Regions from separate parts of the Homo sapiens genome. Here regions 1, 2 and 3 are each linked to region 4. Evidence: promoter capture Hi-C in human tissues and cell types (Jung and others, 2019). All regions are on one chromosome and are shown on one strand. Each heading gives the region's core, a stretch centred on a gene start or on the middle of the fragment in contact. The rest is flanking DNA. Distances are from core to core; before and after follow the strand shown. Region 1 overlaps LOC105376131 (a long non-coding RNA gene). Region 2 has its middle 28 kb from the start of SPATA31C1. Region 3 has its middle 12 kb from the start of CTSL. Region 4 holds the start of S1PR3 (sphingosine-1-phosphate receptor 3).

Region 1 (6,739 bases), core at 4,065-6,564, 1.0 Mb before region 4:
AATCCTAAATATGCCACAAAAAACTGTTAAAACTAATAAACAAGATAAACAGAGTAGCAAGATTCAAAATCAATATGCAAAAATCAATAGTTTCTATATACTAACAATGAGCACTCTGAAACAGAAATTAAGAAAATAATTCCATTTACAATAATATCAAAAAGAATAAAATACTTAGGAGTAAATAAGGAAGCAAAAGACTCATAGGTTGAAAACTAAAAAATGTTGCTGAAAGAAAGACACAAATAAATAGACATCTTGTGTTCATGGACTGAAGGACTTAATATTTTGAATATGTCAATACTACTGAAAACAATTTAAAGGTTTAATGGAATCTCCATGGGATTTCTTTTTTGCAGAATTAGAAAAAAAAATTATTCAGAAACCAATGTGGATTCTCAAGAGGCCCTAAATAGCCAAAACCAATCTTAAAAAAGGAGGAGGTCTTACTCGTCCAGATTTTAAAGCTTACCACAAGCTATAGTAATCAAAAAAGTGTGGTACTGACATAAAGGCAGACAGCCCAATGGAATAGAATGGAGAGCCTAGAAGTAAATCTTCACATACCTGATCAAATGATTTTTAAAAAAATTATGAAGACCATTCAATGGGGAAAGGACAGTCTCTTTAACTAATGATGGTGAGAAAGCTAGAGCTCTACATGCAAGAAAATGAAAAAATTGACCCCTTATATCATATGGAAAAACTAACTCAAAATGGATTAAAGACCCAAATTTACACCAGGTGCACTGGCTTACACCTGTAATCTCAGCACTTTGGGAGGCTGAGGCAGGATCACTTGAGGCCAAGGCCCGCGGATCACTTGAGGTCAGGAGTTCGAGACCAGCCTGGCCAACATGGTGAAACCCTGTCTCTACTGAAAATACAAAAAAATGAGCTGGGCATTGGGGCATATGCCTGTAATCCCAGCTACTCAGGAGGCTGAGGCAGGAGAATCACTTGAAACCAGGAGGTGGAGGTTGCAGTGAGCTGAGGTCACGCCACTGAACTCCAGCGTGGGCAACAGAGGGAGGCTCTGTTTCAAAAAAAAAAAAAAAAAAGAAAACCTAAATGAAAGAGCTAAAACTATAAAACTCTTAGAGGAGAACATAAGGACATAAGGGAAAAGCTTCATAATATTGGGTTTGACAGTGACTTCTTTTTTTTTTTTTAAGACACAGTCTCACTCTGTTGCCAGGCTGGAGTACAATGGCATGATCTCGGCTCACTGCAACCTCTGCCTCCCAGATTCAAGCAATTCTCCTGTATCAGCCTCCCAAGTACCTGGGACTACAGGCGCATGCCACCACGCCCAACTAATTTTTGTATTTTTAGTAGAGACAGGGTTTCACCATGTTGGCCAGGATGGTCTCGATCTCTTGACCTCATGATTTGCCTGCCTCGGCCTCCCAACGTGCTGGGATTACAGGCATGAGCCACCGCACCTGGCCTGACAGTGACTTCTTCATGTAACACTAAAAACATAGGCAACAAATGTAATAATAGCCAGGGTAATTAGGCAAGAGAAAGAAAGGGTATCAAAATTGGAAAGCAGAAAGTCAAATTGTCCCTATTTGCAGATGGCATGATCTTATATATGGAAAAACCTAAAGGTTCTACCAAAAAACTCTTAGAACTGATACATTTAGTTAAGTTTTAGGATACAAAATCAACATATAAGTATCAGTAGTGTTCCTATATTTGAACAATAAACTAGCTGAAAAAGAAAGGCAATCACATTTACAATAGCTACAAAAAATAAAAAATAATAAAATACCTAGGTATAAATCCAACCAGGGAGGTGAAAGACCTCCACAAGGAAACTAAAAAACAGTGATAAAAGAAATGGAAGAGTATACAAATAAATGGAAAGACATCCCATGCTCATGGAGTACAAGAATTAATATTGTTAAAATGACCATACTGTGCCGGGCATGGTGGCTCACACCTGTAATCCCAGCACTTTGGGAGGCCGAAGCAGGTGGATCATCTGAGGTCAGGAGTTTGAGACCAGCCTGGCCAACATGCGAAACCCTGTCTCTACTAAAAATACAGAAAATAGCCGGGCACGGTGGCAGGCAGCTCTAATCCCAGCTACTCGGGAGGCTGAGGCAGGAGAATAGCTTGAACCAGGGAGGCAGAGGTTGCAGTGAGCCGAGATTGCACCATTGCACTCCAGCCTGGGTGACAGAGTGAGACTCTGTCTCAAAAAAAAAAAAAAAAAAAAAAAAAAAAATGACCATACTACCCAAAGCAATCTACAGATTCAATGCAATCCCTATCAAAATGCCAATGACATTCTTCACAGAAATAGAAAAAAAGATTTAAAAACAATGTGGAGACACAAAAGATTCTGAATAGCCAAAGCAATCCTATGCAAAAAGAACGAAACTGAAGGCATCACACTACCTGACTTCAAAATCTACTACAAAGTTGTAGTAACACAAACTGCATAGTACTGACCTTAAAACAGACACGTGGGCCAATGGAACAGAATAGAGAACCCAGAAATTAATCCACATATATATAGCAAACTGATTGTTGACAAAGGCACCAAGAACACTTACTGAGGAAAAGACAATGTCTTCAACAAATAGTGCTGGGAAAATTGGATATCCATATGCAGAAAAATGAAATTAGACCTCCACCTCTCACCTTATACAAAAATCAACCCAAAATGGATCAAAGACCTAAAAGTAACACAAAAAACTATAAAACTACTAGTAGAAAACATAGGGGAAGTGCTTCAGGATATTGGTCTGGGAAAAGACTTTATGAGTAAGACCTCAAAAACACAGCCACAAAGGCAAAAATAAACACATGGGATTATATCAAACTAAAAAGCTTATGCACAGCAAAAGAAATAACACAGTGAACAGACAACCTGCAGAATCTGAGAAAATATCTGCAAGCCATTCATCCAACAGGGGATTAATATCCAGAATACACAAGGAACTCAAACATCTCAACAGTCAAAACAAAACAAAAACGACAATTCAGTTTAAGAATGGGCAAATGATCTAGATAAGACATTTCTCAAAAGACGACATACAAATGGCCAAGAAACATATGAAAAAGTACTCAATGATGCTAATTGTCAGAAATGCAAATCAAAACTACAATAAGGTATAATCTCATCCCAGTTAGGATGGCTAAAATAACAAATCCTGGCAAGGATGCGGAGAAAAGAAAACTCTAATATGCTGTTGATGAAAACGTAAATTAGTACAGCCACTGTGGAGAACAGTATGGACATTCATCACAAAACTGCAACTAGAACTACCATAAGATCCAGTGCTGTCACTACTGGATATTTATCCAAAGGAAAGGAAATCAGTATGTTGAGGAGACATCTTCATCCCCATGTTTATTGCAGCACAGCACTATTCATAACAGCCAAGATATGGAATCAACCCAGGTGTCCAACAATAGATGAATGAATTTTTTAATGTGGTATATATATATAATGGAATATTATTCAGCCTCAGAGAGAATGAAATCCTGTCATTCACTGCAACATAGATGGAACTGGAGGATAGTATGTTAAGTGAAATAAACCAGGAACAGAAAGTGAAACATCACATATTCTCACATGTGGAAGCCAAGAAAAGTTAATCTCAGAGAAGTAAAAAGTAGAACAGAACATACTTGTAGTGGAGAAGGGGGGGTACATAGTGAGAGATTTGTTAAAGGATACAAAATTACAACTAGTTAGATAAAAGGAATAAGTTCTAGTGTTCTGTAGCACTGTGGTATGACTATATATTAGTTAACAATAATATATAGTTTCAAATAAGTAGAAGGAGGATATTGAATGTTTCCAACACAAATAAATGATAAATATTTGAGATAATGGATATGGTAATTACCCTATCTGATCTTTATACATTATGTATTGGACACTGTACCTGTCAAAACATCATTATGTACCCCATACATACATACAATTACTATATGTCAATCAAAATTTTAAAATAATAATAGACACATTTGATTTTATCAAAATTAAAAGCTTCTGTGCATCAAAGGACACAACAGAATAAAAAAGCAATATACGGAAAGGGAGATTCATGAAGCTGAGTGAACACCAAACAGAATGAATCTAAAGAAAACATGACCCAACCATAAGCCATCTACAACGAACTCATTCCAAATATAACAATATAAATAGTTTGAAAACAAGTAGTGACAAAAACTAAGAAGTTGTAAAAAGAAGTGATGGGGGTATGTTATAGAGACACAGGAGCCAGCTGAAAGAATTCCTAATGGCCAAAGCTAGAACAATTTGACCAAGAAAATAAAAAATATAATAGTACATTATTAACCGAAGTATAAAATAAATATACATAAGGAAAGCCTACGAAAAATTCTTCTAGATATTGGTCTAGGCAAAGAATTCATGGCTAAGACTTCAAAAGCAAATACAGCAATAACAAAAATAGACAAATGAGACTTAATTAAACTAAAATGTTTCTGCACAGCAGAAAAATAACGCAGTGAATAACAACCTGCAGAATAGGAGAAAATATTTTGCAAACTATGCATCTGACGGACTAATATCCAGAATATGCAAAGAACTCAAACATCTTAACAACAACAACAAAAACCAAATAACCCCACTAAAAGCAGTCAAAGAACATGAACAGACATTTGACAAACAAAGACATACAAATGGCCAACAAGCATATGAAAATATTCTCAACATCACTACTCATCAGGGAAATGAAAATTAAAATGAGATATCAGCTTACACCAGTCAGAATGCCTATTAATAAAAAGTCAAAGGCCAGGCACAGTGGTTCACGCCTGTAATCCCAGCACTTTGGGAGGCCGAGGCGGGTGGATTACCTGAGGTCGGGAGTTTGAGACCAGCCTGACTAACACGGAGAAACCCTGTCTCTACTAAAAAAATACAAAATTAGCCTGGCATGGTGGCACATGCCTGTACTCCCACCTACTAGGGAGGCTGAGGCAGGAGAATTGCTTGAACCTCGGAGGCGGAGGTTTCAGTGAGTCGAGATCGTGCCATTGCACTCCAGCCTGGGCAATAAGAGCGAAACTCTGTCTCAAAATAAATAAATTGTAAAAAAAAAAAAAAAGAAAGAAAAAAGAAAAAAAAATGTTGGCGAGGATACAGAGAAAAGGGAATGCTTATATACTGTTGGTGGGAATGTAAATTAGTACAACCTCTATGGAAAACAGTATGGAGATTTATCAAAGAATTAAAAATAGAACTACCATTCAATCCAGTAATCCCATTACTGGGTATCTACCTAAAGGAAAAGAAATCATTATATCAAAAAGGTACCTGCATTTGTATGTATGTAGTAGCACTATTTCCAGCAGAAAAGATATGGAATCAACCTAAGTCAACCTAGGTGTCTATCAAAGGATGATTGAATAAAGAAAATGTTTTATACACACACACACACATATATGTATGTGTATATACAGGAATACTACTCAGCCATATGTTGGGGACCAACCCCAACACCACCCGTAGGGTACCCAAAGTCCGGTGGTGACAAAGGAATGAGAAGAGACAGGTTAAGAGTTCATAAAGGTGGGAGCCAGGGGGCCAGAACAAATCAGAGGCTGCGAAGGTGCCAAGCTCTGGTCTCCACACTATTTATTGAGTACAGTCACTTAGATCTAAGAAGCAGATGTTCAGGGGTGAAACGGTGAAAGCGGGGGGCGGTGTGACATACACCTAATCTATAGCAATGGCGGTTTAGGTAAATTTTCTTTGTGCTGAAGCAGCATAAACTTAACTACTGATTTATTCTTTAACTTATTGGAGAGCAGCTATCGGGAGTGGGCATAACTAGGAGCCGGCATATCTGGCCACATTCCAATGCTTCAAAGGAGTGTCTTTCTCCTTGAGCACAGTGTTTATAGATAAGAGAGCAGGTCACGCTCTGGTCATGGGAACGTTATGGCAATTAGAAGACTTTCCTCCTCAGAGGCCTCTTGTGGCTTTCCACAACTTATTGTCCCATATTTTTATGGCCAGTTTATGCAGGCACCCCACAAGCCCTTTTCCCAACAGCCATAAAAAAAGAATAAAATCATGTCATTTGCAGCAACATGGAACTGGATATCATTTTTATATCTATATATATATACACACATACACATGTATATATGTGTATATACATATATACACGTATATACGTGTATATACGTGTATATACGTATATACACGTATATACGTGTATATACGTATATACACGTATATACGTGTATATACGTGTATATACATATATATATTTTTTTTTTTTTGAGACGGAGTTTTGCTCTGTCACCCAGGCTGGAGTGCAGTGACAGGATCTTGGCTCACTGCAACCTCTGCCTCCCGGGTTCAAGCAGTTCTCCTGCCTCAGCCTCCTGAGTAGCTGGGATTACAGGCACACACCACCGTGGCCGGCTAATTTTTGTATTTTTTTAGTAGAGTTGAGGATTCACCATGTTGGCCAGGCTGGTCTCAAACTCCTGACCTCAGGTGATCTGCCCACCTCGGCCCCACAAAGTGCTGAGATTACAGGCGTGAGCCACCGTGCCTGGCTTTCTTTTCCCGTTTTCCTTTTTTTTTTAAGAAAGGGGCTCCTCTGTTGCCCAGGCTAGAGTGCAATGGTATAATCATAGCTCACTGCAGCCTCCACTTCCCAGGCTCAAGCAACCATCCCATGTCAGCCTCTGAGTAGCTGGGGCTACAGACACATACCACTACACCCAGCTA
Region 2 (7,437 bases), core at 3,961-6,460, 1.0 Mb before region 4:
AGGAGGCTGAGGCACAAGAATCACTTGAACCTGGGAGGCAGAGGTTGCAGTGACCCAAAATCACGCCACCGCACCCCAGCCTGGGTGACAAAGCAAGACTCAGTCTCAAAAAAAAAACATAATAAGATGGGGAGGACTAAAGACAACGAGGATCTTAAAAGTAGTCAGAGGAAAACATACCAGGAATAATCAGTTGCATTTTTAAATACCAGCAAAAAGTTACATTAAGTAGATTTTTAAAAAGATACTTAGAATAACAAACACATGATCAATCTATTATATACATGGCATGATAAATTTAGACTGTTCAAAATATATAACACTTTAGTCAGAGGTATTAAAAGAAAAACTGAATAAAGTTATGATAGATGATCATGGATGGGAAGACAGTAACATAAAGATTTTGGTTTTCAAATATGATCATATATGCAATACAATTTCTGTCAAAATAATGACAGATTTTTATGGAAATTCCAAAAATATCTTAAATTTTATATGAAAGATAAGAGGGCCAAACATAGCCAAGACAATTTTGAAGGAGAACAAGGCAAAAATTAGCACAGAGAGGGCATGTTTTAAGTTTATAATAAATTTGATAGGTGATAATAGAGCAAAGATAGTGGTTGTATAAGAGAAGAGAATACAGGCTAAGGAACAGAATCACAATCATAAGGAAATTTTATATATGACCAAAGTGGCATTGAAAATAATTTGGGGCTGGGTGCGGTGGCTCACACCTGTAATCTCAGCTCTTTGGGAGGCTGAGGCAGGTGGATCACTTGAGGTCAAGAGTTCAAGACAAGCCTGGCCAATATGGTGAAACCCTGTCTCTACTAAAAATATACAAAAATTAGCTGGGTGTGGTGGCACGTGCCTGTAGTCCCAGCTACTTGGGAGGCTGAGGCAGGAGAATAGCTTGAACCTGGGAGGCGGAGGTTGCAGTGAGCCAAGATTGCGCCACTGCACATCCAGCTTGGGTGACAAAGCGAGACTCTGTCTCAAAAACAGAAAAAAAAGAAAATAATTTGGCAAAAGAATGGATATGGCAGGGCGGCTAAACACTGGGTTTTTCAAGTTGTTTTGATTATTCTAGGTTACCTGCTTTCCTATATAAATTTTAGAATCATCTTGTCAATCTTGTCAATACATACAAAAAATCCTTCTAAAAGATTTACTGAGATTGTTTTGAATCTGTAGATCAATTTGGGGAGAATTGATATCTTAAAAATATTGAGTCTTTGACCATGAACATGTGTCTCTCCATTTATTTAGGTCTTCTTTAGTTCCTTTTATCACTATTTTGTAGTTTCAACGTATATCTCCTGCATATACTTAATTGGCTTTACATCTTAATATTTTATATGTTATTGGTACCTTATAAATTGTACTTAAACATTTTTAAATTCAGTTTTTTGGCTAATGAATACAAATGCAATTGATTTTTGTGACCTTATGTCTTGTGATCTTCCTAAACTCAGTTATTAGTTTTGGTAGTTTGTTGTTGAATCTATAGAATTTTCTGCATAAAAATAAAACATGTAATCTTCAAATTAAAGAATTTTACTTCTTCCATTTAAATAAGATCACTTTCTATATCTTATTTTTATTGGCTAGAATGGCTAGGATCTCTAATACATTGTTGAATAAGAATGAAAGGGTGGTCATTTTTGCTGTGTCCTGATATTAGAAGAAGAGCGTGTGTGTGTGTGTGTGTGTGTGTGTGTGTGTGTGTGTGTGTGTGTGGTATTGCAAAATAAATTTATTTGAAGATAAAATGTCTTATAAAAGGTCAGAGGCAATTCGAGATCCCAGATTCAGCTTGTCTCATAAAAAGATTCAACTTCAAGTAGCACAATTTCTTGTCTGCTTTTAATCCTGAACATTCTTGAAGCACGAAACAGCCAACTGTTTACACAACACACATATGTGACATCTTGACTCTGGCACCAGTGGCGCCGCAGCTTTCAGCTCTGAGGCCGCAGGGGCTGCAGCCCTCAGCTTCGGGAGGGCCCAGATCAGGCCACTGTGACCTTTGGCTTTGCCAGCAACAACAGGTCCCAGCATCCCAGCCCTTCCCTCCCCTGGCGCCTCCCAAAAGCACAAGAATGCAAACCGAGACTGGCCCACCACTGAGGCAGGGGTGGACTCCCGCCTGAGTGTGCCAACAGGGCAGGTGGACCGTCCTGGTGACTTCCTGGTGGGCCTGGCCAACCAAGAGGCCAGGTGGCCTCACCGGGCCTGACCTGGCTGCCTGGCAGCCCGGAGAGGAAGGAGGAAGGACGCTCATGGTGCAATAGCTCTGGCCACGCTGGCAGGAGCTACGTGATGATCCTGGAGATGGCTTGCAGGGAGGGGAAGTCGTCGTCCCGGGCAGCATGCAGCGCCTGGTGGCTGCTGGCGTCGCCATGCGTGAGCACCTGCTGGCAGGTGGGGCACACACGGCAGTCCAGGCCCGCCTGCTGGGTGGTGGCCTGCCACGCACTCTTCTTGTTGTTCTTGGACTTGGTGCTGAGAGTCTTCTCGCGGTTGCCGAAGTCCGTGTGTGCAGACAGGATCTCCTGCTGCTTGGCCGTGTCGGGCAGCAGGACCAGCAGCTCATTAAAGACCTTCTGGAAATTCTCCCCCAGCAGACCCCGGCAACTCTTGTAATACTGGGCTGCGGAGATCAGGCCCTGTCTGAACTCCCCTGAGTGGCTCTTGAACTCGCTGAAGCGGGCCTCGTCGCTCTGCAGGAAGTCCCTGATGGACTGGATGAGCTGAAGTTTCCTCTCCCAGAAGTTCTCGGGGACTAGGTAGGCCCGTGGGGCAGGCGGCGGCCTGGGTGCTTTTGTGGTGGTGGTGGTGGTGGTGGTGGTGGTGGTGGTGGTGGTGGTGGTGGTGGCGGCGGCGGGGTTGGGGGCTAGGCAGAAGGCCAGCGAAGCCGGGGGGCGGCTTGCTGATTGGGGGCACCAGGCCTGGTGGGGGAGGGGGAGGCGTGCCCTTCAGGAGCACCACAGCGCTGAAGCCTGGGGGCGCGGCATCCGGGGTGGGCGGGGGCCGCCGAGCGCTGGGAAGTCCTCCTGTGGCGTGGGAAGAAGAGCATTTTTTCACTAAATACGATGTTAGTTGCAGGTTTTTGGTCAGTATACTTTATCAGGTTGAGGAAGTTTCTTCAATTCATAGTTTCCAGAGAGTTTTTAATCAGGAATTAATATTGGATTTTGTAAAATGCTTTTTCTGCATCTGCGGACATGGTCATAGAATTTTTCATCTTTATTCTGTTAATATGGCACATTATATTAATTGATTTTCAAAATTAAAGCAACCTTGTATTTCTGGGATAAACCCCATTTAGTCATCATGTATGAACTGTTTTATATATTGTGTGATTCATTTAGCTACATTTTTATTAACTGGATAATTCTTGTGTCTGTGTGCATGGTGGGGATTATCATCTGCAGTTTTATTTTCCTGTAATATCTATTTTCCTGTAATATCTGCTCTGAAACCAAAAAAGGTTTCAGAGTAATGCTGGCTGCTGTGGTCTGAATGTTTGTGTTTCCCCCAAAATTCACTGCATTGAAACCTAACCACCAATGCAATAGTATTAAGAGGTGGGAACTTTAGGAGATGATTATTTCGTTAGGGTGGAGACCTCATAAATGGGATTAGCGCTCTCATAAAAGAGGCACAAGGGAGTTCATTCACCTCTTCCACCTTGTGAGGACACATAGCAGGTGCCATCGATGAGGAATTGACAGATGCTGAATCTGCTGGCACATTGATCTTGGTCTATCCTTACTCCAAAAGTGTGAGCAATAACTTTCTTGTGTTTATAGATTACTCAGTATAAGTTATTTCGTGATAGCAGCCTGAATGGACTGAGACACTGGCTTTATAGAGTAAGTTGGAAAATGTCTCCTCCTCTTCAATTTTCTAGAAGAGTTTGTGTATAATCAACATTATTTACTCCTTAAATATATAGTGCTATTTGACAGTGAAGCCATATATGTTTAGGGTTTTCTTTGTGGGTATGTTTTTAACTATGTTTAATTTTTAATAGATATATTTATTCTTGAGTGCCCTTTGGTAATTTATCTATTTCAAGGAATTTCATCTAAGTTGTTGAATATATTAACATAAAGTTGTTAATATTCTCTTATATCCTTTGAATATCTGTAGAATCTATGACTTTATTAATCTCAAAGAACCATTTTTAATTCATTTCTTTATATTTTTTCTCTTTTCTATTTCATGGTTACTAATCTTTATCTGTCCCTTTGGCTTATTTTCTTTATCTTTCCCTTTGGCTTATTTAACTTTCATATTCTCTTCCAATTTGTTGTGCTTATTGTGTATGTCAGCTTAATTTTTTAACAGCTTTGCTGAGATATCATTGATATATTAAAAACTATATATATTTAATGTGTACAATTTAATGAGTTTGAACATATGCATATTCTCGTGATACTATCCCTACAAAAGTTTTCTTGTGTCCTTTTGTTGCTTTTTGTTTATTTGTTTATTGTTTTGTGTGTATGTGGTAAGAACACTTAACATGAGATCTTAAAATTTTAAGTGCATAATACCATATTGTTGACTGTAGGCACTATGTTGTACAACAGGTCTCTAGAATTTACTCATCTTGTCTAACTGTAACCTTATACACCCATTCAGCAACTCCCCATTTCCCCCTCCCCTATCCCCTAGCAACCACTATTCTATTTTCTACTTCTATAAGTTTGACTATTTTAGATACCTCATTTAAGTGGAATCATGGAGTATTTGTCTCTCTGTGACTGAATTCATTTAGCATAATGTTTTCTATGTCCATCCATATTGTCACAAATGGTAGAATTTTCTTTTTTTTAAGGCTGAACAGTATCCCATTGTATATATATATATATACTACATTTTCTTTTTCCATTCATATATCAGTGGATATTTGGGTTGTTTTTGTATCTTAGTTATTGTGAATAGTGTTGCAGTGAACATGGGTGTGTAGATATCTCTTAGAGATCATAATTTTAACTCCTTTGAATATATAACCAGGAGTGCAATTGCTGCATCACATAGTAATTCCATTTTTAAGTTTTTGAAGAATCTCCACAGTTTTCCATCGTGGCTGTACCATTTTACATTCCCACCAATAGTGTACAAGAGTTCCAATTTCTTCACAACCTCACTTTTATCTTTTGTTTTTTTTAATAATAATCATCCTAACAGGTATGAGATTGATATGGTTTGGCTGTGTCCTCACCCAAATCTCATCTTGAATTGTAGTTCCCATAAACTCCACATGTTGTGGGAGGGACCTGGTGGGAGGTAATGGAATCATTGGGGGTGGTTTTTCCCTTGCTGTTCTCGTGATAGTGAATAATTCTCATGAGATCTGATGGTTTTATAAAGGGCAGTTCCCTGCACACGCTCTCTTGCCTGCTGCCATGTAAGACATGACTTTCTCCTCCTTCGCCTTCCACCATGATTGTGAGGCCTCCCCAGTCATGTGGAACTGTGAGTCCATTAAACCTCTTTTTCTTTATAAATTACCTAGTCTTAGGTATTTCTGCATAGCAGTGTGAAAATGGACTAATACAGAAATGATATCTCATTGTGGTTTTCATTTGCATTTCCCTAATGATTGATGAATTTGAACACCTTTTCAGACACTTGGCCATTTATGTCTTCATTGGCAAAATATCTGTTCAAGTTCTTTGCTCATTCTTAATTGAGTTATTTGAGTTTTCACTATTGAGTTATAGCAGTTCCTTATATATTTTAGAAATTAACCCCTTATTGGTTGTATGGTTCGTAAGTATTTTCTCCTGTTCTGTAGGTTGCCTTTTCACTCTGTTGATTATTTCCTTTGCTGTGCAGAAGATTTTTGGTTTTATATAGTCTCACTTGTTTGTTTTTGCTTTTGTTGCCTCTGCTTTTTGTGTCAAATCCATTAAATCATTGCCAAGATTTAATTTCATGAAGCTTTTTCTTTACTTTTTTCCCAGGAGTTTTACAGTTTCAGGTCTTACATGTAAGTCCTTAATCCATTTTTATCTTTTTCTAGTATTTTAAGGTAGGAAGCTGAAATCACTGATTTGAGAGCTTTCTTTTCTAATACAGACCTTTTGTCTGCACTCCACAAATTTTGATACATTGTGTTTTGATTGTCACTGTAATCCCAGCACTTTAGGAGGCCAACACAGGTGGATCACGAGGTCAGGAGATTGAGACCATCCTAGCCAAGCTGGTGAAACCTTGTCTCTACTAAAAATACAAAAATTAACCAGGCATGGTGGCGGGTGCCTGTAGTCCCAGCTACTCAGGAGGCTGAGGCAGGAGAATCGCTTGAACCTGGGAGTGGCAGTTGCAGTGAGCTGAGATCATGCCACTGTACTCCAGCCTGGGTGACAGAGTGAGACTCTGTCTCAGGAAAAAAAAAAAAAACTTTCTAATTTCCCCTTTGATATCTTTGATTCATGGTTTAATTAGAAGTGTGCTGTTTGATATCCAAGTATTTGGAGATATTCTAGAGATACTGTTATTGATTTTTACTTTGATTTCACAGTGGTCTGCTATATATGATTTAAATCTTTTTAAAATTAATCAAGACTTGTTTTATGGCCAAGAATACAGTCTATCTTGGAAATCTTATTAGTGCATTTTAAAGGAACATATGTTATTGGGTAGAGTATTAATATTACAGCAAGTTTATATATATAGTTTATATATACATAAACTGTATATATATACACATTGATACATATATACACACATATATACATTGATACTATATATATATACACACACATTGATACATTGTGTTTCAATGGTATATGGTAACAGGAAGCAAATTATTAGAATGGTAGAATTAAGCTCAGTTACGTCAATAATATCAAATGTAAATGGCCCATATACATATATATATATATATATAGAGAGAGAGAGAGAGAGAGAGAGAGATGGAGTCTCACTCTGTAGCCCAAGCTGGATTGCAGTGGTGTCATCTTGGCTCACTGTAACCTCTGCCTCAGGGGCTCAAACAATTCTCCTGCCTCAGCCTCTCCAGTATCTGGGACTACAGGCATGCGCCACCACACCCGGCTAATTATTTTGTATTTTTAGTGGAGATGGGGTTTCACCATGTTGCCCTGGGTGGTCTCAAACTTCTGAGCTCAGGTGATCCACCTGCCTCGGCCTCCCAAAGTGCTGGGATTATAGGTGTGAGTCACCGCGCCCAGCCGATAATGTTTCAGTCTTCTATGTTGTCACTGGTTTTCTGTCTATTTTTATTTTATCAGTTATTGAGAAAAAGGTATTGAAATCTCCCCAGTATAACTTTGGATTTTTTAATTTTTTTCTTCTAATCCTATATGTTTTTGCTTCATGTATTTTGAAATTATTAGGTACATAAATATATACAATTGTTATAAACTTTTGATTAGTTGACCCCTTATCATT
Region 3 (6,749 bases), core at 1,837-4,336, 1.3 Mb before region 4:
GAGGCAGGAGAATTGCTTGAACCCGGGAGGCAGAGGTTGCAGTGAAATGAGATTGCTCCATTGCACTCCAGCCTGGGCGACTGAGCGAGACTCCATCTCAAAATAAACGAATGAATGAATTAAAAGATGATTTCAGTTTTGCAAGATGAAGAAAGTTTCTGGAGGGCATGGTGATGATGGCACAACAATATGAATGTATTGAATGCCACTGATCTGTGCAGTTCAAGTTGGGTAAAGTAGTAAATTTTGTGTTTCTCTATATTACCACAGTTTTCTTTAAAAAAAAAAAAAAAACTAAAAAGATAAAGCTGAAACCTAAAAATGTCCAGGTAACAATAAAGCTGGCAGAGTAATGTACAAGACTACCTACTGTATTTAGAGCAGCTCAGCCAAGCGGAGCCCCCCAGAAAAGGGGAACAGGAAAAGGGATTGATTGCTTTTTAAAGAATTTAATATTTGTTATTTCAAAAAAAAAAAAACTTTAAAGTGGTCCTCAGAGGGGGAAGAAGTGAGAGTTCTGTTTGGCTTCTTTCCTCTTTTGATTGGCAGAGGGTTTTGTTTTTAGTTTGAATTCGTATTTGAGACCCAGCGCCACAGTCTTTGCAGGACTATGCATTCCTGAGAACTTAAACTGAACTGTTTATGAGGAATAGTGTGAGGGTGAGGGCCCAGCCCTGGCTCACTGAGTCCTCAGGGCTCAGCTCCACAGCTGCCTGAGGAATTTGCTCTCAAGGGCAATCTTCAGCGATCTGGAGCATAGCTGGGCTTTGGGTGGCAACCTGAGGGTGAGGTCAGACTGTAGCATCACAACCAAAAGTCACATGCTGATGACAGGCTCCAAATCCTCCCAGCCCAGGGCCTGGTGGCTTCCAGATGTTGACTCAGGACAGGAACCGCTTGTCTGCCCTAAATGAATGCCATGGCCAGAGAGGGTGGACCAGGGGCACCTCTGACAGGGAGAGTTAAGGAGCAGTGAGCTCCCTTCCACCTCCGCTGAGCAGAAAGGAACCCTGGAAATACCTTCAGGACAGACAGCTGCTGATCTCTTCCTGGAAGCGCTGGGCCTCAGAAGCTTGCTGGTTCCTGCCTATTTGCTCCCACGGCAAATTCTTGATTCTTTATCAGAAAGGAGGGAAGAAGTGTGTGGGTGTGAGGGGGAAGAAGCCACAGGAATGCCCACAGCAGAGGTCCTCGGGGACGCTGGGCTATCCCTGGTGGCAACACTCTTGGGGCTGGTGCTGGGTGAGGACGGCCTCCCAAGCACCCTATGCTGTGACTCCAGCCCCCAGGATTCTCCTCAGGGTAGAGAGAAGGAGCTCAGGTGAGCTCTGGATGAATGATACCATCTTTTCCATTGAAATCACAGAATTTTACAACTAAAGAGAACTTCCAGATGGTTTGAGTCAACCGCACTCTGGCAGCTGGAAGCAGAGATGAAAAGATTCAGGCAAAATTACACAGTTCAATTATTAACAATTCAGACTAAGCATCAGGCCATCTGACCCCAACTGAGGGCCCCTCATCCTATTCTACTAAGTATATTACACTGCAGTCTGTATGTGTGTGTGCATGTGTGTGTCATGAGAGTACACGGATATGCAGGTGTATGCATCTGTATTTTGTGCATAAATGTGTGCATTTGTGTACATGTATATTAATGTATGTGCGTGTGTCATGTGCATATGTGTAGCAGAGTTAGTGTGCATATGCACATGTGTATATGTGTATTGCGCATGTGTATACACATGTATATATGGGGGTAAGTCTGTGTCTTTGGTATGTGCATATATGTGTGTGTGTGATGTGTGTGCATGTGTGTGTGCTTTGTGTGTGTGGTGTGTGTGCATGTGGTGTGTGTGGGGGTGTGTGTGGTGTGTGTTTATGTGATGTGTGTGTGGTGTGTGTGTGAGGTGTGTAGGGTGTGTGCGTGTGTGGTGTGCATGTGGTATGGTTGTGTGTGGTGTGTGCGTGTGTGGTGTGTGTGTGGGGTGTGCGCATATGTGTGGCATATGTATGTGTATATGTGTGGTGTGTGTTGTGTTTGGTGTGTGTGGTGTGTGCATGTGTGTATCTGGTGTGTGTGGTGTGTGTGATGTGTGTATGTGCGGTGTGTGTGTTTTTGGTGTGTGGTGTTTGTGGTGTGTATGTGTTTGGTGTGTGGTGTGTGTGTTTGGTGTGTGGTGTGTGTGTGGTGTGTGTGTGGGGGGGGTGTGGTGTGTGTGTGGTGTGTCGTGTGTGTGTGTGTCATGAGAGATTCTTAGGCCATAATGGCTTTTTTTTCTGACCAAGAGACTTGATTCTTGCTGATTCAGCCATGAGTGTGCATTTCCCACAATCAGGGTGACTAACCAGGACATCCGGAGAAGTTTCTTCCTCTCTGCCTCACCCATCCCACTCGCTCCATCCTCAAAGCGGACACTCAGATGCTGGGGCTTCTGCCCCAGTGTGTGACCCCACGGGAGGTTTGCAGAGTCCTCAGGTTGCGTCACAGCCAGCGTTGATGAGCATCATCCTGTCTTCCAAGAAGGCAGGCCAGTCACCCAAGAATGAGCCAGAGCTGCTTCTGTAAATCACGAGATTCTGTGACCCAGATTAACATGGAAGGAGAAACCAGCAGCTGCTGCCGCCGTAGGCACAAGTCAGCAACTTCAGTCCTTCTGAGGCTGGCCCTTCCTGGCCATGGGCTGCCCTTTCCCTTTGGGGTAATTTGAGGCAATGAAAGTTTTTATTCCCTTTGGTTGTATTTTCTAGACATGTTTTAATGTAGCTGAAATCATATGAAGTGTTCAATTTTATACCCTGCTTTTTTTAAACGGAAGATTATGACACAGCTTTTTTACAATGTTATTAGAAGCTTTTCAGAAACATTCCTTTTAACGGCTGCAAAATGCTATAATAATATTGTCATATCCCAATTCCCTACTGTGAAACACTCAGGCGTTATTCCCTGTTGAAAACAAAGCTGGGCTAAACATCTTTATGCACATTTTTTTCTGTATTTCGGACTGGACATGATATATGTGGCTTTTTGGGCTGTCGGCACATAACAATTAAAATCCAAAAAGAGAAAACATTAATTGCTGAGCAAAACTTTGCATTTATGTTGCACTCTATCTGGTTTTCTTTTCTTCCAGAAAAACATTATTTTATTAATCAATGGCTAACACACTTTATAATAATTTTTACCAAATTTTTTGCTACATATAACAGCTTTTATAATCTTACTCTTTTAGCAAGAACGGAAAAAATTCATTCTTTCCACCATCACAAGAGATTAATTACTCAATAATTACATTTATTACCAGTTTAGAAAACTTTGAGCTTCAAAACCCATTACAGGCAATGTCATAAATTTTAAAGATTACTGTCAAATCTGGTGAACACTCTATCAAGTTTAGTTTCATTTGATTATACATAAGCTGTAAGATTTTCTGACATTGCAAGTTTAATTGTCTAGTGACTTATTTTAAATGCTTTTTAATGCCAACACTCATTATCCAATTGTCATTCATGTCCTTCTCTGCCTGGCTTTATGGGCTGAATTTCTGTGCAGGTGCCTTTTGCTGAGAAGGCACCCTTCCCAGTGCTCTGGGCCATTCTCTGTGTGGTTCCATTGCTATCCCGCTCCAGGTACCAAAGGATTTGGCCTCCAAACTCTGCTGCCCACCTTGGTGGTTGGACACATACTCCTGGAGGACCTGGAGTCAAAACAAGCCACATACATCCTGCTGACATGGAGAACAGCCAGCTACTGAGCAAACATGCAACACTGGTGATATTGTGCAATGTTCCCAGCTGTGAATTTATCTCATTGTTTTCACCCAGTGACATTTTTATCTTATCCCTCCATAAGCCAGGCAAAAGTACACTAAACGCTTGAATAGATTCTCTCTTGTCATTTTGGAATTACTATTTTCATTTTTTATTTGAAAATGAGAAATAAAAAGGAATCTTATAACTTCTCTCTGCCCCTTAAAGCTATTTTCAATAAAGAGTAGCTTTTTTTTTTTTTTTTTTGTGAAATGGAGTCTTGCTCTGTCACTCTGTCGCCAGGCTGGTGTGCAGTGGTGCGATCTCGGCTTACTGCAACCTCTGCCTCCCAGGTTCAAGTGATTCTCCTGCCTCAGGCTCCTGAGTAGCAGGGACTACAGGCACGCACCACCACACCTGGCTAATTTTTGTATTTTTAGTAGAGACGGGGTTTTACCATGTTGGCCAGGATGGTCTCGATCTCTTGACCTCATGATCCGCCCACTTTGGCCTCCCAAAGTGCTGGGATTACAGGCATGAGCCACCGTGCCTGGCCGCCTTTTTTTTTTTTTTTTTTTTTTTTTAACTGACTCTTAAACCTTGAGACGCCTTGCTATTGCCAGTGGTTCCCACACTTTGGGAATGTTATGAAATAGCAAACTTTTATAAAGAACATGGAGGACTGACACTCTGACACTTTGTTTTGCAAAGAACACAGAAACTACAATAACTATCCAATGCTGTCACCAATCATAGTGCCCCAAAAGAAAGAGAAGGAAAGAAAGAAATTAATAAATAGAGAAAAAAATTCCAAATGAAAAAAATTAAAGCAGCAAGGAAGGGCGGGGCACGGTGGCTCACGCCTGTAATCCCATTACTTTGGGAGGTCGAGGCGGGTAGATCACTTGAGGCCAGGAGTTCAAGACCAGCCTGGCCAACATGGCGAAACCTTGTCTCTACTAAAAATACAAATATTAGCCAGGCATGGTGGCACGCTCCTGTAATCCCAGCTACCGGGGAGGCTGAGGCACGAGAATCACTTGAACCCGGGAGGCAGAGGCTGGAGTGAGCCGAGATTGTGCCACTGCACTCCAGCCTGGGCAACAGAGCAAGACAGAGCAAAAAAAAAAAAAAAAAAAAAAAAAAAAAGCAGCAAGGAAGGCAAGGAAGGAAGGAAACAAAAGAGAGAGAGAAAGTGGGAAGGTTACAGTCCTAGAATAATTAACATTCCTTTCAATGGAATAACTTAATCTTAGGGGAAAAAAATTACCCAGTGCTCTTCATTTTTCTCCATTTCCCTGGAATTGTGAAAAGTTCACCATGGGCAACATGACTCTAAAGGTTTATTGCTGTGTTTTGTTTGCTCAGGAGCCTTTGCTCTTTGCTATGCATAGAAGTTCAGGAAAAGCCCTCAGGCCCCGTCTCATGACATATTTCATGACAATGTTTATTCCATCCCCTGAACACTGAAACTTACCCAAGGTCCCTGCGGGAGGGCCACACTTTAGGAAGCACAGTATTTCTGGTTGCTCTTAACATAGGGGCATAGGATCCAACAGTCAGGAGGAAATGGGATGTCTCGAAGTTCAGCCAGAGCATCACCCGCCATGAAATATGAGGGTCAGTCGGTCTCCGCTCAAATGGTCCCAGAGATGGAGGATTGGAAAAGCAGATTTTAATTCCTACGTGAGCTGACACTTACCACCTGTATTTCTCATCCCTTGTTCTGTCTTCCAGGCTATAAAGACGCCTTGAATCCTCCTCCACGATACCCGCCCCACTATTTGTTGGCACAGCTATGATGCTGCTTATGGATTGTTTTCACTCCTAAAGACAGTGGCGCAAGGCAAGGTGACCTGGAGCGAGGCCATCCTGAGTGCCCACCCAGCTTCCCAGGAGCCTGTTGGAATTTGGAAGGACATTTGCCTCTGTTTATAAAGACTGGCTTTTTGCTGAAAGCCAGGGTCTCAAAAATTTTGTTTTATTAATAGAAGCTAAACCCCAAACATTTGGCTCTTTTTCATTCCATTTCCCCTTTCACAATCTTAACTATTCCCAAGACAATGGATACCTCTGCCTGTATCAAGGGCAGATTGTCAATAAGAAAGTCAACAGGAAATAAACATTATTATTTCAAAAATACTATCCTTATCCATTTTAAATTAAGGGGCTAGGAGAAAAGGATATGAGGATTTACTGTTGAATGGGTTAGGAGTTTCAGTTTGGGATGAAGAGAAAGTTCTGGAGATGGATGGCGGTGATGGTGGCACAACAATGCGATGAACTTCATGCCGCTCTCAAAAATAGTGAAAATGGTCAAGTTTATGTTACGTCTATTTTACTATAATAAAAAAAAAATTTTGGTTTTCAGTGGGCAGGTGAATAAGGAGACCCTCTTGCCACCTCTTGGCAAGAGCAAGAAAGGAGATTGGAATATCAGCAGTGTGAGCTCTTCCAAGGGCAGTGGTGACAGCCTGGGAGACTGGTCAGCGTAGCAAGGGCAGGTGCAGGTCCCTGGTCCTAGAATGTGAGTGTGGCAAGCCAGCCTTAACTTCTGCCTGCCTAGGAGGCATCCTAGGAGGTGAGCCTTAGTGAGCAGGGGTGAGCTCTGTTTGTCCTGTATGCAGCAGCAGATTATCTGTCTGCTCATGCAGACTATGTAGATTGCTCAGAGTTGCTAGAGGGAGGGCCTGTGGGGCCTGAACTTCAGCCTGCACTCAGCTCATCAAGCCATGGGCTCTCTCAGGGCCATGTCTGTCCAACCCTTGCAAAGCCTCTGGATGGGTGATCCTGGGCACTAAACCTTGACCATTCTAAAATACTATTTGGCACAGCCTGGATGAGGTCTGTACATAGAGTGTGTAGATCCCTCAAGTTCCCTGAACACTCCGCCATGCAAGTGATGCAGAGAAGTCAGCTAGGAGGAAGACAAGGTGTGGGGAAGAACAGCACCAGCCAGGAAGCATCATCCCAAATCTGAGTTCATGAGGCTGATGAAG
Region 4 (7,611 bases), core at 4,936-7,435:
CTGTAGATAACAATGCTCAATTCATAGTGATAGGGCATCTCTGAGCAAATGTCTCCCGCCAGCTGTTTGCTGCAATAATTTGGATATTTGCTCCTGTGCCTTTCACGTTGTGGTTAAACAGCATGTTTACCATCAATATCACTGGCAAGAGGTTGGGAACAGAATGGAGAGAGGAGACAGGGTGTGGTTCTATAAGAATCAATGGCTCTCCTCCTTATGGGTTGTGTAGACTTGAATGAGGTCCCCTCTCCAAGCCTTTATTTACTCATTGCTGCAATGACAGCAACCTCTCTGCTTCATAAAAGGGTATATGAAGCAACCCTAGCATGGTCTCCAATAAGCTCAGTGGGCATTCCTTCTCTGTCCCCACCATATCCATATGGCCTTTCTACAACTATTTCTATGTTTAAAAGAGCTAAACCTGCCTGTTATCCCATTTATTATAATTCTTTCATTTCGTATGTCTAACTGCACTTGAGTCCTCACAATTCAGATGGATAGAGTGAAGGCTTTTCAGACCCTCAACTGATTAGGTGAGGCCCACCCACACTCAATGGGGCCACCTGCTTTCATCACATGGATATGCTGAAGACAGATTGTTGAAATATTCTTTGTTTTTAATTTAAACTTGTTTCATCATACTGGTTCTTTTGAGGTGATTTTCATCTCACTTTCAGGTCGTTTGAGAGTTTCATCTTACTATATAATGGTTGAAAAAGGAAAGGAAGTCATCACTTGCCCAAGGTGGTGGTGAATTCCCATTCTGTTACCAGCCAAGGGAAGGGATTAGGGGAAAATATTTCACCCAGAAAAGTGCTGTGTTGTTTGAGTTCGCCTTTTGGTTATTAAGGGTACTAATATATTTTTCATCAACAATGACTTAAGGCCCCTAGAAGTTCATGAACCTGGTGTGGGTGTGTGTTTCCCACTCAGATGTGCTGTGTAACTTGCACCTGAGGGTAACACGAACTCTCCCTGGGCAAGATGTAACCAGGGAAAGAAAGGAGAAGGCAGAGCTCAGAGCAAGCAGAAAGCCAAGCAGGAGACCAAAAGAGGCCTCAGAGGCCATGTTTGCATCTTCCACAGAGGGACAGACACATTCTCTGCCTCTCCAGTAAACACAAACATGCAAACATGCACACACAGAGACATGCACACACACGGACCATACACACCACACCACACACACACACACACAACTACTTATGTTTCTGAATATTACAAACATCATTACAAAATATGAAATGTACAAAGAACAATTCCCGGTGGCTCATGCTTGTAATCCCAGAACTTTGGGAAGCCGAGGCAGGTAGATCACCCGAGGTCAGGAGTTCAAGACTAGCCTGATCAACATGGTGAAACCCCGTCTCTATTAAAAAATACAAAAATTAGCCAGGCACAGTGGTGGGCGCCTGTAATCCCAGCTACTCAGGAGGCTGAGGCAGGAGAATTGCTTGAACCCAGGAGGCGGAGGTTGCAGTGAGCTGAGATTACACCATTGCACTCCAGCCTGGGCAACAGAGCAAGCCTCCGTCTTAAAAAAAAAAAAAAGGAACAATTCCTGAAGCTTCTGATGATTTCTGGCTGACCATGAGGTTGGAAGTGGGAACACATTAAGGGCTTAATGATGGGACACAGTGATGTAACCACTGTGGAGCCACAATTGAAGTGCTGAGATTCAGCATTGGAAGACATCTCTGTCACCAAATGAACACGCCTCCCTAAAGAGCTCTGGCAGTGAGTCAAAGGCTTCATTTGGGTCAAGACAGAGTTATTATACAAAAAGCCAAGTTTCATTCTACAAATCCACATCGGGGTCAATATTTTAAAGTGATTTCCCCCAAGTTCTGTGTAGAGCAAGCTGACAGAGAAGAAATGGCTCTGAGATATCTGGCAAGGTGCAGATGGACTGACCACAAGCCGCTTATCCCCACTGTAGCTCCGGGCTCCCTTCTGCCACAGTGGCCATATCTGTGAGGTTCTGCCCTTTCCCTGGGGCCACTGCATCAGTCAGGGCTCTCCAGAGAAACGGAATCCACAGGAGGTATACCTATAGCATACACAAAGGCTTTATTATAAGGAATTGGCCCATGCAATTATGGAAGCTGACACATCCAATGTCTATAGGTCCAAGGTCCCAGTTCCAGTCCTAAGAGGATTCTCCTAGTTAGAGACTTCTCTCTAACTAGGGAGAGTGTTGGCTTTTTGTCTTCAATAACAGTCTACTCAGGCCCTCAACTAATTGGGTGAGGCTCACCCACACTAGGAAGGGCCATCTGCTCTCCTCAGTCTACTGACTCACTTGTCAATCTCATCCAGAAACCCCCTCACAGACACATTCAGAATAATGTTTGACCACATATCTGGGCACCCCATGCCCCAGTCAAGTTCACACATACAATTAACCATCATAACTATCTGTTAGACCCCACCTTGCAGGGGGCAGTCCTCCTCTGGAAACCTTCAGGACTTGAAGTGTCAAGCTCATGTGTGCAAACTGTGACCAACACACATTTTCCTGAGAAGAGGCCTCAGACAAACAAAAAAATATCATGCATGCACATTTACTCAGATAATGACTGTCTGTTGCAGCCTTTACGCTAAACAGAGCTAAGAGTAGAGATAGTGCAGATTAACTCAGACCCAGAAACTTGGGGAGGCACCCTGGGATCCTGGAAGCAGATGCTGGGAGGGCAGAGGGGACCGAGAAAGGAGGTGCATTTACTCAGCTCTTCTGAGACAATTCTGCTCTCCTGCGGTGCACTCGTTCTGCTGGAGAAAGGGCTCACTTTGAGTTTGAATCTTAAAACTGCATGTCCTTTAACCACACTGTACCTGCTCACCAGGCTGTGGACACTAAATTGTTGGGAAAGTGAATATATTTCATTTTTTTAATTAAAAAAGCATGTAAGGTTATATTACATAATTGTGATATATAATACATTTATTCAAATCATATTTAAGTTTGGGGCCACATGATTTTCAAAAGTATACAGATATAACTCATAGTATCTTTCAATTTTATTCCCATAAGCCTAGATTTGATTTAAAGTCTAAGCGCAAAGGTAGAGAAATTTTTTAGTTGTTTAGTACCTGCCATTTTATTTTTCTCCAACTTTTTATTATGGAAAAAGTTCAAAGATACAAAGAAGGAGAACAGATTGTACAACCCCTTCCCTAAATCCACCACGTAGAACCAATAATCACCAACCTTTTGTCATATCAGCTTATGTGCACGTACTGTGCTGAACAATTTAAAATAAGTTTTAGACATGAAGACATTTTACCCTTTAATACTTCAGCAGCACCTCCTAAAATTAAAGCCATTCTCCTAAACAAACATTATGCCATTATCACACCTAAAAACATTAACAATAATTCTATACTATCAGTCAATATCCCCTCCAATTTGTAATTTCCTCCAAAATGTTTTTGTGTGCGTGTGTGTGTGCTGATTTGTCCAGCTGGGAGTCAATCCGGATTTGTACTTATTGTTATACTTCTTCTTTTCAGCTGTTCTTATACCAGAAGAATCCTTCACCCCTTTTTCTTGACATTGATTTTTTTTGGAAGAGCTCAGGACTGCAGAATGCCCACACTCTGGTAGTCCAGTTTTTCCCATGGTGTCATTTAACTCATGGCTCAAACTCTTCCATTTCCTGTAAACTTGCAGTAAAGTCTAGAGGCTTTGCAATTGATTCAATTGAAGCATCTTTGGCAAGCACACAGCAACAATGATGTTGTGTGTTTCTTTTGCATCACATAATGCCAGGTTGAGCCAGTATTAGTGACACTGAGTTTGATCTTCCTGTAAGGTACAGCCAGATGTCTCCATAAAAAAATGGAAAATGGAAAACCTTTTTCTTTTTTTTTTCCAATTAGCACCCGTTCGCCTGCACACTTTCACCTAAGGGTTTGACACCCACTAGTGCACACTGCCTGATTTAATTATTTCATTAAGGGTTACAGAATGGGGATTTCCTCATTCTCGCATTTCTACGTTTATGAGCTGGCATTCTTCTGTTAAACTGCTTTCACTTGTGAAACAGGATGCAGAGGAGGAGACTTATTCAACAGAATTGTAGGGAGGGCTGTTTCTCTCAAAAGGAGTGGTGAGAGAAGATGGTCTCTACCGGGGCATGGAGGGCTCCTTGTCAGAGTCTAGTGTCTGAGCTTTAAGGCCCAGGAAGAGGGCAGCAGATGGGGGTGGGGCAGTGGGTGAGTGAGAGGCCCGTGTGTGGGGAGACCCACTGAGGACAGGGATCTTTAGGCAAACGGAGCCTCACTGAAAGAGGAATTTCAGTGATGCCATGGGTCAGATCCTGGGTCTCTCTTAGGGAAACCTGCCATAAAGCATGAGAGCCACATTACTCCTCAGGGCTTCTGGGCTCCGATTCCGCAGACTAGTTTTGGAGGCATCACCACGCCTCAAGGTTGCTCTGTTATATCAGGGTAACTGACTTTCTCTAGGAACGGAGACTTGGGTGCCCCTTAAAACAACCCTCAGCCAGTATCCTAGCAGTAAATTTTTCATCACGGGAAGCAACTAATTGAACAGAGGTGTGATGAACCTACTGACCACTTTGGTAATATAGACACAGTGGCCACAGTATGCTGTATTGTTATCCTGGTTGTGACCAATGCCAAAGGAGCATGTTTCCTTCTTTTCTTGACTTGATGCTGTAGGAGTCCAACAAAGGGAAGCACATTCAGGCCCACATGAAACTTGGGACAGAAGTGGCTTCTCAGAGCCGTGCACCAGGCACTTTGAACAAGTTGGAAGGCTACAGTGCCGGAAGACTCCACAGTAGCACAGGCGAAGTGGCTTAGGCGAAAACGCTGGGAAGTACCCCAGCTCCCGGGGGCCAGAGCCTCTAGGGCTGGCAGCCTCAGCAGGCAGAGTCACTTGCCTCCTTCAGCTCAATTGCTGAGGGCTTGCGTTTCTCTGCAGGGAACAGGAGTGCCGCCGACTTCCACTCTTGGTGCCCTTCACCGCTCAAACTGCACCCCAAATAAGCGTATGCACCCTGCTCCAAGAGAAGGATGCGCTGGGCTGATCCTCTGGAGGCAAGAGGGCAAAAGACAGAAAGTAACGAGCGGCCTTTGCACAAACTCAACTCTCTGCAGCGGCCCCTGCGGCCCAATCCTGCCGGCCCAGGAATGCACGGTCGGATAACAGGCCTCTCCTTGCTTTTTCGTCTTCTTCCTCCCGCTTCTCTCCTCTCTCCTTTTCCTCCTCCTCCTTTTTCTTTAATTTTCTCCTTTCTCCCCAAGCTTCTACAGTTGTTTCTGTGTTCGCTCAATCATGGCCTTTGGCATTGATTGAAAATTTGGCAGTTCCTTCTCTCGGAATTCTGTTTGAAGCCTTCATATGGATTTATTATTATTATTATTATTTTTGCCACACAAAAGGGGCAAATCCGCGTGAGGAAGGGGGTCGCATGGGGGTCGGCTGAGATCTGCTGGCTGCCGGTCTAGGAGGGGCGCTGCTCTGTGCCGGAGTGGGCTCTGGTGCACCAGCAGAGGCTGGGGGAGAGTGCTGCCCCCGCCTGGAGCCCAAGTCTCTGCGTGCCTGGGGGTAGAGCGCGGAGAGGGACCAGGCAGGCGCCGGAGGGGACCCGCGCGGAAAAGGAAGAAGCCCAAACAAAAACGCTGTCCGGCGCCAGGCGCCCACCTGCAAGCCCAAGCCGGTGCTCGGCCAGTTACAAAAGAAATGGTCAGGATCTGGACAACGATAATGATAGTATTAATCCTCCTATTAAGAATCGGCCCAAACAAACCCTCGCTGTCAGGGCGACAGGCGCCCGCCCAAGCCCAGACCTCGGACCTGGTTCCAAGCCTGTTCCCGCTGGGTCTCTGGGCGCCCGGTTTCTGCACCTGGAGCTCGCCCGATGAGGACAAGGTCTGGAGGCCGGCCTGGGAACAGGGGCCGAAGGGCGAGCCGGACCCTAGGGGATTGGTAGGGTCGGGGAGAAGGGGTCCAGGCTAGGGGCGGGCGGGGCGCACGGAGACCAGGCGGCTTGAGCGGGAGGTGGGGAGCTGGAGGAGTGCCGGGTTCGCGGGCGGGGGACGGGGAGAGGGGGGCGGGGAGAGGGGCGGGAGTCGGGGGCGGCGAGGGGAGGGGCGGAGCGCGGGTCCCGCCCCGGCGGGCCGCTGGAAAAGTTTAGTCTCTGACTCGCTCGGGCAGAGGCCGAGGAAGCCGGTTCCGGGGACGGGCAACAGGGACTCAGGGACCAGAAGGCGGCTGCAGGACGCGACCGAGCAGGACCCCAGGCCCGGGAACGACGTCGCGAGCGCTGAGACTGCCGGGCCTCCCAGCCCATCTGGCATTCGAGCGCAGGACCGGGCGCCCCGGCACCGCCGCGCGCCACCCGCTAGGATGCCGGTGGCCCCAGCGCCCTCAGCCGACGGAGGTGAGAGGCGGGCCCGGGCGGGGCGCGGAACCAGGGTGGGGGGCTGGGGGCCGAAGGACCCACCTTTCCAACAAAATCCCCACCGATCCCGGGCGCGACGGGGACTTGGGCGCGCCACGGCGGCCGGAGCGCTCCACATCAGCACCCCTCCCCCAGAGCCGCTGCAGGAACAGGGAGGAGGCCTTTTCCACCGCACCCGGAGCGTTTACAACGGGCTGGAGCTGAATACCTGGATGAAAGTGGAGAGGCTGTTCGTGGAGAAGTTCCATCAGTCGTTTTCCTTGGACAATTAACAAGTTAGGCTTCCACAGTGCCAGGGCCTGGGGATGCTGGACGTGGGAGAGGGTTGTGGTCGTTAGCCTGGGAAAATCATTCTTTTAAACAATATTCGCCGGAAAATTAGTTTTTTCCTAACATTTCTCAAACAAGGCAATTAGGGCCGTCAGAATCGGTGCTGGAAGACGAAGTCCCCACAGTGCAATAATGAGGTTCCCACGGAAAATCAGTACGTTGTGTTCGTAACTGAGATAACAGCTAGAGAAGGGGCTTTGGGCTTTTTGAGTCTCCCAATAGTCAGTCTCTCTCTCTCTCTCTCTCTCTCTCTTCCTCTGACTTTCTGGCTTTGGACACTCCCAATGGTATATTTCTTTGTGGTGTTTTTATATTTGGATATAAGAGAGGAACTTCTTGTTGGATTTTTAAGGGAACACACTTCGTTTTGACCCTTCCAATAAGGAAAGGGGAGCTACAGGAACAGAGAGCTCTTTAGAAGGTTACTTTTAAATGGAGGCCCCCCCATTCATGGTACCCACTCCCACTTGGACCTCTGAGACCTCCAGAATTAGGCATCATTCTAAAATCTGGACATTAGAAGTCACAGACTTTGTATATAACCACATATTCATAATTTATCTTTTCAATGTTTTTTATTCATAGATGAAAATCTTGCAGGCATAGTTAAGAAAAATATAATTCCTAGAAAGTACAAGGGAAGGATTATGCTCTGCAGATACATGACTAACAAGGATAGCTGGCCATGCCCAGGGCTGGTGTTGGTTGAGGAGGTGGTGATGGTGCGGGGCATGTGTGTGTGTGTGTGTGTGTGCGCTTGAGGAGTTGTGGAAGTGTTCATATCTGTAAAGTATTATTTCATGGATGCAGACCTTAATGCTAGGTTGAATAACTTTGTTGCCATAGA

What was found. The method cuts DNA at HindIII sites, captures the fragments that hold promoters and counts their contacts. A contact is called where the count stands out against the background at its distance.
Region 1: a fragment that was not itself captured here is called in contact with the fragment with the promoter of S1PR3 in region 4 in 3 of the 25 tissues and cell types used here (dorsolateral prefrontal cortex, hippocampus and small bowel).
Region 2: a fragment that was not itself captured here is called in contact with the fragment with the promoter of S1PR3 in region 4 in 1 of the 25 tissues and cell types used here (thymus).
Region 3: a contact is called between a fragment that was not itself captured here and the fragment with the promoter of S1PR3 in region 4, in 1 of the 25 tissues and cell types used here (dorsolateral prefrontal cortex).

The regions. Positions count from the first base shown.
Region 1 is chr9:87,978,674-87,985,412 of GRCh38, forward strand. All of the region lies in intron 1 of LOC105376131 (a long non-coding RNA gene), which reads left to right. Among named protein-coding and RNA genes, the nearest start is that of CDK20, 7.5 kb to the left of the region's middle. The HindIII fragment of the contact is 6,657 bases long and covers 1,987-6,739 here.
Region 2 is chr9:87,941,953-87,949,389 of GRCh38, forward strand. It overlaps the pseudogene LOC645937. Among named protein-coding and RNA genes, the nearest start is that of SPATA31C1, 28 kb to the left of the region's middle. The HindIII fragment of the contact is 9,656 bases long and covers 383-7,437 here.
Region 3 is chr9:87,711,223-87,717,971 of GRCh38, forward strand. No RefSeq gene overlaps it. Among named protein-coding and RNA genes, the nearest start is that of CTSL, 12 kb to the right of the region's middle. RefSeq lists an enhancer at 2,165-3,364. The HindIII fragment of the contact is 5,621 bases long and covers 277-5,897 here.
Region 4 is chr9:88,985,283-88,992,893 of GRCh38, forward strand. It overlaps S1PR3 (sphingosine-1-phosphate receptor 3), which reads left to right and starts at 6,186. Exons shown (of 2, transcript NM_005226.4): 1 at 6,186-6,413. RefSeq lists a silencer at 5,732-6,026. The HindIII fragment of the contact is 13,055 bases long and covers 3,421-7,611 here.